2 separate regions of the Homo sapiens genome follow, and region 2 is linked to region 1. Evidence: promoter capture Hi-C in human tissues and cell types (Jung and others, 2019). All regions are on one chromosome and are shown on one strand. The core of a region is centred on a gene start or on the middle of the fragment in contact, and the rest is flanking DNA. Distances in the headings are between cores, read along the strand shown.

Region 1 (4,632 bases), core at 1,417-3,916:
TGAACTTCTTAAATAATTTTAGGCAACAGAAAATGCTCAAGTCTCTATCAACAACTTTGATTAGGCCTCCTCCATAACTGGTAGCGCAGGTCATGAGCAGAACTGAGAAAGAGAATTATAAACCTATTGCGAATTGTGGAGAACAACTCCACTCACTATTTTCTCCATAAAGGCAGTTTATTACACTGAGATCAACATGTTATCACTCACACTAGTGATGTAAAAAATAATCCAATTCAACATAAGATTCAGACCAAAAAAAAAGAAAAAACCCATCCACGAGAATCTATCAATCTTTGACAACAAAACTACACGATTTTGGGATTAAATTTAAGTGACAAGACAATGTAAACTGGGGGCTTGTTCTCTCCGGAAATCACCACTACCAACGCTGCTTCTAAAAGCAGGCTGCACACAACCATTTTTCCTCTGGAAATAGCTAAATCCCAAGGCACGATATTGCTGTATTTTTTTTTGAGACGGCGTCTCGCTCTGTCACCCAGGCTGGAGTGCAGTGGCGCGATCTCAGCTCACTACAGCCTCCACCTCCCAGGTTCAAGCAATTCTCCCACCTCAGCCTCCCGAGTAGCTGGTATTCCAGCGGCACAACACCACGCCCGGCTAATTTTTGTATTTTTAATAGAGACGGGGTTTCACCATGTTGGCCAGGCTGGTCTCGAACTCCTGACCTCAGGTGATCCACCTGCCTCGGCATCCCAAAGTGCTGGGATTACAGGCTTGAGCCACCGCACCTGGCAGACATTGCTGTATTTTATAAATGTATCTTTTGTACCATTTAATACACTATAAATTATAATTGCAAGTATTTCCCACTAAGATTAAGTCCAAGTTTAAAAGCAATAAGCCCATCAAAGAAACAAAAATACTATTTGAAATAGTTTCAAAAGAACAATTAAAAAGATGGCTTTAAATAAAAAATCGTTTACCTGACGCTAAAAAATAAAAGATAAAAGCATGTAAATAAAAATGTGTTTACCTGACACTAAAAAATAAAAGATAAAAACGTTCTGGTGGAACTGAAAGAATAACTATAACCTTGAATATTGTTTTAATCAAGTTAGACAAGGGTTTTCATTAAATGTCATTTTACTAATTCGAAATTACATCTTTCACCTTAAGCATTTTGACATTTCCATCAACTTTCTAAAAGTGAGGGTAGATTGTTTTTCTATGTTTTTAATAGACTTGCCTCTCAAAAGAATGAATTAGATAAAAACTGATGGGAGAAACCTTTTCTCAACCTCCTCCTCCTCTTCAATGAGCATCTGAGTAAACCCTGGCTATAAATTACTGTTTAGGTCATAATCCTGAAAATTTTACATTAGACAATGACGTAACTAAGGCCCATTTTCTCTTTGTATCCCGACATCCTGTCAACTTTTCACTTTACAAGCCTGTTTTTCATCACAACAAATTTTCACATACAGGAATGCAATCAGTATTTTCTAACGTCCAGGAGCCAAAAATCACTATTTAGTCTATTTTTCCATTTCTCCCCAAAGAGCAGAATTCTCACGGTTCAGAATCATCTTTACATTTCCGAACCGAGGAAAGGCTGTCTAATGTGGAATACTGCTAGTTTCCCGTGAGGAGTGCGGTGTTTCCGACAGCGGCACTGAGGATCCGTGCGGAGCCCCCGCGTGAAGCCTGCGATGCCCTCCCCACCCCGTGAACCCGGCCGTGTGTCAGCAGCCACGGCGTGAGGCGCACAGGCCGCTGGCCCGGAGCAGGGCCCAGCCCACCGCTCCCAAACGCGCCGCGGGCAGCTGTCCCGCGGGCAGCACAATGACGAGCGCCCCGCGGCCCGCAGGCCCAGGCCCACCCAAACGTCCTCCGCACAGCGGATTTGCGCCGTCGCCCGCCACGAGGCTCTGACCTCCGAGGGGCCCCGGCCAGCCACGGCCTGACGCCGTCCTCCCCTGCGGGTCCCCGCCGGATCCTCCCGGGGGTCTCCCGTGGCAAAATGGGGGGGGACGGCGGGGGCGGAAGGGCCGGGGACGCTGAGGGTAAGGCGGCCCAGCCGCGGGTGTTCCAAGAACTACGAGGGAAAGGGGCCCGGCGGCCTCACCCGCAACTGGGGGCGGCTCTCCCGCGTCGTCGGCCGCGGGCGCCAGGGTGACGGCGCCGTCCCTCCAGACGCGGATCTGCGCGGCCGAGCGCACACGGTGGCGGGGCTGGCGGCGGCGGGCGGCGGCGCGCAGGGAACCGCAGCACTGGTAGCACACGGCCCACGCCTGCTCCTCGTTGATGGGCTGGTTGTACAGCCGCAGGATCTCCTCCAGGCTCAGCGCGTCCCGGGAGCCCCCGGCCGCGCCGCCGGCTGCCCCGGGCTCCCGCGGCCCCTCGCCGCCCACTGCCTCAGTCCGCGGCTCCCCGCCGCCCGCCGGGCCAGCCGCCTGAGCCATCCCGCGGGTGGGCGCTGCGCTCGGCAGTCGCGCCGTGTGCCGGCGTCTCCTCAGCTCCGGAGCATCGTCGTCGCGCGCCGCCGCCTCACCATCCCCGGAACCGCCGCCGCCCAACGCGGCCGCGCGCGCCGCCGCCGGGACCAGGCGAGTGCCCGGGAGGCGTGGGCAAGAGGAGGGCGGCGAGGACACGGCTGCAGTCCCGGTCAGACAGCCGCCGGCCGGTAGCGACGCGATGGCGTCCGGCGCCCCGCCCCGCCCCGCCCCGCCTCGCGCCGTCCAGCGCCGCCCAGCGCCCGCCCCTTAGGGGGCCGCACGGGCCGGGGGATGCACGCTCTGGAGGTGAGGACCAGGCAGGAGGGCCTCGCCTCGAGGCGAGATGGCCGCACGGTCTCTAGCCCGCAGGGCTCTCAGAGTCGCAGGCGGTGACGCCCGGTCGGGGGGCCCGGTCGCAAGGGACACACAGCTGGGGGCGCAATGGTGAGGGCGGCGACGCACGGTCCGGAGGGGATGCGCGGCCGGGTAGGGCGTGCAGGGTTGTGGGGCGTGGGGGACACGCGGGGCCGGGCGCGCGGTCGGGGGGCGCAGGGGCAAGAGGGTGTCGCATTTATCAGGGAAGTCCCCGGCCGACTCTGGCGGGGAACTGGGCGCGCCAACCCGGGTCACCGCCCTGCACAGCGGGAGAAGTCACCCGCATTGACGTTCCCTAGGCGCTGGATCGCCGAAGGTCTGGTTGAAAACTTGAACCCGCCTGGAGCGGATGCCTAAGAAAATGCAGGCCCGCTGAAGCCTCCCCGCCGGGCCCTGGGCCCTGAAAGCCTCCGGCAGTTTCCCGTGACCCCGCGGCCGCTCTGCGCGTTTTCCGATTTCTTGCTGGTTGAATACCTCCCTCTCCACTCCCATCTTCAGGGTAAGCACCGTAAAGACGGGGATCTTTACGGGTTTTCCTCACTGACTTCTCCCAAAAGCTAAACCAGCGCCTGGAATATAAACATGTACATAATTTGCAGGTGTTAGTTTTAGCGTCCTTCCGGATTCATTTGTAACATTGGTCCCTTCCCTCACTAAGGTAATGTCTCAAGTACCACACTCATCAGAGCATGTGGAATGAATATCACAGTGGTAAAATTGAACTGAGGGCAATTAGCCGTAGAAAGAAAGAATTCCGCCCCCCCAACCTATTAAATATGCAATAAAACAGATAATTCTTAATCACCCATTGGTAGATTAATTTAATCGATAAAATTCCACTGAGGCTAGTCCTGTGTGAAAGCCCTACAGAGTGTTGAAAGCATCAACCAAATAGGCAATGTATATTAAGTTCCAGTAAACCTTTTACGGCAGTTTTATGTAAAATGTTAGAAATCACGCTCTCAACAATTGCATCTTGCGGTAGAAACTACAACAGTCTATTTAAATAACAACAGTCTATTAAAATGAGATACCATCTTACATACAGCTGGGAATGGGGAGGAGGGAGAAAAGCAACAGGACGAAAAGGAAAATTAAGAAATTGAAAGAGGGCCGTGCGCAGTGGCTTAGGCCTGTAATCCCAGCACTTTGGGAGGCTGAGGCGGGCAGATCACTGAGGTCAGGAGTTCGAGACCAGCCTGGCCAACATGGGGAAACCCTGTCTCTACTAAAAATACAAAGAAAATTAGCCGAGTGTGGTGACGCACGCTTGTAATCCCAGCTACCCGGGAGGCTGAGGCAGGAGAATCGCTTGAACCTGGGAGGTGGAAGTTGCAATGAGCCAAGATCACACCACTGCACTCCAGCCTGGGGGACAGAGCGAGAGTCTGTCTCAAAAAAATAAATAATAAATTGAAAGAGGAGAAGAAAGCTCCCCAGGCAACTTATTATAATTTCAGTACGAGAGAGACAAAACAACCCCTTAAAGTAGCATCACTTAATTATAGGTTCATAATCTCATTTGTAGCAATGCAGTATCTATGTGTGCCAAAGCCCAGAGAGGCAAACATGTAATTCCTTATGTGTGACACTATATACATATAAATATATCTCTGTCCTCTTGATTAAAAACAGACAAACATTCCCAAATTTTGCTATTTCAAAAGTTTATCCTGTGTGGATTTTGCAAATACAGACTGGTTTAAAATATTTTGAACAATCCAGGAAAAAAAATGAAGGTCTACTTTTATGGACAACACTACCACCTCCTGGCCTTATGGGATACTGCTGCCCATTG
Region 2 (4,632 bases), core at 938-3,437, 240 kb after region 1:
GTAGAGAGGGGATCTTGCCGTGTTGCCCAGGCTGTTCTTGAACTCCTGGACTCAAGTCATCCACCTGCCTTGACCTCCCACAGTGCTGGGATTACAGGTGTGAGCCACTGTGCCCAGCCAGATATTTTTATAGCTTTTGAAATCCACTGTTAAATTGCTGTATGAAAGAATAGAATCAATGTAATGCTATAGGCAGCGATTTAGAACTATATGTTTGCCCACATCCCTATGAACCCTCCCAACTTGGCCTCCTGGAGTGCTGGAATTAAAGGCATGAGCCACCGTGCTTGGCCTGGTTCCTTTTTATCCACAACTACTTCCCACTTCTTACTATTTTATGCTTATGTGCATATCAGGCTGCTTCTGAAATGAAATACTATTATGTTAATAAAAAACACAAAAGAATTGATATTGTTGCAAAAACATACTTTCTCCCAGGTGAAACAGAGTCCAGACAGTTTTAATTAACATTTCTTTGACTAGAAAAATTTACATGAAGTATATTGTATATTCTTGTTATGAGGAGACACATTCAAATCCCTGAATCTTAATTAGTTCATAGCCATATGAATGATCATCTCTGAGCACCTTTCACTTTCCGCTCTGGGGCTTCTCTGATGCTGTGACTTGCAACACCTAAACGAACACACAATTCACTGAAACATTCTTAACTCAGATGTGCAGAGGAGTTAGCACCAGTGGCACCACTCTTTTTTTTTTTTTTTTCTGTGCACATCCACCTTTAATAGCTTCTTCCGTCACTCTTTAGATCCAATTACTAAAGTCTTATTGAATCCAAAATAGATCACATCATTTACCTGTAAAGAGGAAAAATACCCTAAAAACATTTGTGGAAAAGGTTAAAAATTGTAAGCCATACTAACGATTTGTAAGAACTTTAGAATTTTTTTTTTTTTAAGCAAAGGCAGCTACCAAAGTGTTCTGGGCGGGGTGGGGGGGGGGGCGAGGGAGGTGAGTATGAGTGGAGTTGGACCCTTATAAAGGGACAGCGACAAACACCTCATACTCAAAACAAGGGGACTTCCCCTGTCATTTGCGCCGTCGGGCCACTGCAAATGTCCGTGCTGAGATGCCTACGTTGTCACTCGACACAGCCGCCAAAGCTCACCCGGAGCTGCGTCAGTCCCCACTGGGTTCCTCCAGGCCAAGGAGGTACGACCTCCGCCGCAGCATATAAAGTAAATGTCCAGGACATGGGAAGAAACCCGCCGATACAGCACCCGGGTGCCCAAGCCCCCGAGAACTAGGCCGCGCGGGTACTACGGGGCCAGAAAGCCCGGGCCAGGGCGGGCCCACGAGCGAGCACCGTCGGGAACAAACCGGGAGAAAGAGGAAGAGCCGGCGCCAAAGGTATCCCGCCCACCGCGGTCCCCCCAGAACTCTTCCTGCGCTTGCAAGCGCCACGCTGCCCACAGGACTGCGCCAGCCGGCCGGCGCCTCAACAGAGCGCGCCAGGGAGCAGCGCCCGTCGGGAGCCAAGACGCCTGAGCCATCGAGGCCGCCGCCGGGCCAGGTCGAGGCCGCCGCCGCCGCCGCCGCCGCCGCCGCCGCGGCACCACTCTTAACCGATGTTGATTTCCCCTTTCACACCCCAGGAAGGCAATTATTTGATTTTTTTTTGTTTTGCTTTTGTTTTGTTTTGTTTTGAAACAAGGTCTTGCTCTGTTGCCCAGGCTGGAGGGCAATGGTGTGATCATGGCTCACTGCAGCCTTGACCTCCCGGGCTCAAGTGATCCTCCCACCTCAGCCTCCTGAGTTGCTGGGACTAGGTGCATGCCAACATGTCCAGCTAATTAAAAAAAAGTTTTTTTGTAGAGATAAGGTCTCACTATATTGCCCAGGCTGGTCTTGAACTCCTGAACTCAAGGGATCTTCCTGCCTCAGCCTCCCAAAGTGCTGGGATTATAAATGTGAGCCACTGCACCGAGCCTCCAGGTGGCCGATTCTCGGATGCATTTCTCATGGCTCCTTAGAAAGTCCCAGTGGGGGCCGGGCGTGGTGACTCATGCCTGTAATCCCAGCACTTTGGGAGGTCAAGGCGGGTGGATCACCTAAGATCAGGACTTTGAGGCCAGCTTGACCAACATGGTGAAACCCCATCTCTACTAAAAATACAAAAATTAGCTGGGTGTGGTGTCAGGCACCTGTAATCCCAGCTACTTAGGAGGCTGAGGCAGAAGAATCTCTTGAACCCAGGAGGCGAAGGTTGCAGTGAGCCAAGATCGTGCCATTGCACTCCAGCCTGGGTGACAGAGTGAGTCTCTGTCTTAAAAAGAAAAAGAGAGAGAGAGACAGACAGACAGAGAGAGAGAGAGAGAGACAGAGAGAGAGAGAGAGAGAGAGAGAAAGAAAGAGAGAAAGAAAGAAAGAAAAGAAAGAAAGAAAGAAAGAAAGGAAGAAAGAAAAAGTAAGTCAGTCTCAGTGTGAACAAGCGTCATTTGTGTCTGGTGATGGACGTGACAAGGCTTTCTTATGTTTGCTTTTCCTCCTCACCTGTTCATCCTCCTTCCCTGCACTGCTGCTCTCTAGAAGCGCTTTCCCAAATAAAGTCCTTGCAACAAGCCTTGGTCTCAGGGTCTGCTTTCAGGGAACTCAGGCTAAGGTAATTAGTCACAGACATGGGCCTAGGAAGCAGATTCTCAGGATGGGATTTTGGAGCTGGAAAACACAGAGCTAAGAAACACGAGGCTGGAGTGAGTGGCATCTGGTAACATCACGATTGCTAAGGATCTCACCCTGGTGGCTTGGGATGAGGTGCAGGTGGAAGGTAAAGCACTGGGCATGTGGCAGCTCTGACACCTAAGTGGTATTGGGGCGAGGGGAACTATAACGATTTTGGAGGTTCCTGGTCTTTGTTAAATGCTCTGGACGTCTTGAAAAAAAAGTCAAACAGGTTTCCACCTGCAACTGTCAGCTTGAGGCAGGTTGTGGAAGCAAAGCGGCTCCATAACTGCATTCATGGAGACGCTCATTTTATTCGTAGAATGTGTGGATGAAAATCAGGCACAGCACTGTGTTATTAGGAAAACAGAGATGCAAAGGAGCATGAATGCATAGCCATAAATGGTCTCGTCCTCAAATCATTGACTTGAGAAATACCTGGGTGGACTTGGACCAGCCTGAGAACCTTGCAACCCCAGGTTTTTTTGGCTCCCCCAGGCCAGCAGATGTGCGCCCCCATTCTTACTAGATTCACAGAAGCCCTCACATGAGAAAGTGTCTCAAAGGGCAAGGAAACTCAGTTTTAGCCACTAACTCCCCAAAAGCAACCCCTGCCACCACTTGTTACCTCCATACTAAGAAGCAGGGTCTGATCCCAACACAGCTTAGGTAAACAGTCCAAACTCCAGGCAGAAATCTTATATATCCTAAGAATTGTAAGACCTGTCTAATGTGGACCAACAGGAAGGAGAGGAAAATGGGCAATTATAAAGCTTAAGATGTTGGGCCAAGGAAGATGCAAATATAAGGATGGGTAGAGAAGGATTTATTGATATAGGAATATACCCCTTGGTTTGGGAGTCCTAGTCAGGGCATCTGAATCCACTTCTCATCCACTGCTCGGATAGTTTCCTGAAGCTTGGGCAGGAAGATGACCTACAATGAATGAGGTGAGGATGCTTTAATTTCCTTGGCAGAATACTAGACGAGCTCAGGGAAATTAGACATTAGAATAGGCTTAGTATGTGGTATCAGAGAACCCACTTCCCGGCTGTGTTCTTTGGGAAGACTCAGAGGAGACTCCCTTCATAAAGCACAAAGACCCACTGGTGAGGGAGGCATGACCATCTTTGAGAAGCTTGGTAGGAATTGTCCTTTGTAGGCCAGAGCCGGCCAGTGGAAGATCCTGCCAATGGATGCCAGGTATCAATGGGCATGACGGGATTCTGAAATCGCAGAGAGGAGGCAGCAGCAGAAGGGGAATGAAGTTAGTATCATGGGCAGCAAGGCCAGCATGGCAGTTACGCTGCTGTGACCTGCTAGGATCTGTGGGCTCTGTTCCAGGGGCTGAGACGGGTGAACAACAATTAGGTTGTGACTTGACTTGGACAATTTGAAAAAAAAAAAAAAGAAGTGCTGGGAAGCTGAAGTTTGAAATTAGCCACTGCAATGGAAAATCACAATCCTTCATTCAATTTCCAAAGCTAAGTCAGTTCACAGATCTAATGCACATTGATTGAAGGGAAGCCTGCCAGTTCTCTGTAATGAAAGACTCTGCACCACCACTAAAAATACAGATGATAACTATTACCCTAGTCCTTCACCAATGGAACCTACAGCCACCTAGCAGCCCAATGGTGCCAAGGAAATGGATAGAAAATCTGAGTTGAAACTTCAGATACCACGGGACCTGAAATCCTGTTATGTTCCTCCAGTTACACTCAGAGCTTTTGAAGGGCAGATGATACATGGAGTTCTGACCCAAGTATACCCTGCAGTGGGTCCACTGGGTCCAGGAACATGGCCTGTGGTTATTTTCTCAGCTCCCACATGTATAATTAGGATAGATATATACCTAGTAGTTGGCAGAAACCTTACAATGATTTCTAGACATCTAGACATAGGGGGGAAGACACAGGAGAGAAGTCCCTGAAAAATCAGAAGCAATAC

Evidence for each region. The method cuts DNA at HindIII sites, captures the fragments that hold promoters and counts their contacts. A contact is called where the count stands out against the background at its distance.
Region 2: a fragment that was not itself captured here is called in contact with the fragment with the promoter of SPIRE1 in region 1 in 1 of the 25 tissues and cell types used here (psoas muscle).

The regions. Positions count from the first base shown.
Region 1 is chr18:12,655,441-12,660,072 of GRCh38, forward strand. It overlaps SPIRE1 (spire type actin nucleation factor 1), which reads right to left and starts at 2,667. Exons shown (of 17, transcript NM_001128626.2): 1 at 2,090-2,667. The coding sequence starts at 2,426. It also overlaps a transcript of PSMG2 not described here. RefSeq lists silencers at 2,087-2,206, 2,397-2,816, 2,686-2,854, 2,857-2,926, 2,977-3,126. The HindIII fragment of the contact is 13,339 bases long and covers 1-4,632 here.
Region 2 is chr18:12,895,566-12,900,197 of GRCh38, forward strand. No RefSeq gene overlaps it. Among named protein-coding and RNA genes, the nearest start is that of PTPN2, 14 kb to the left of the region's middle. The HindIII fragment of the contact is 3,045 bases long and covers 666-3,710 here.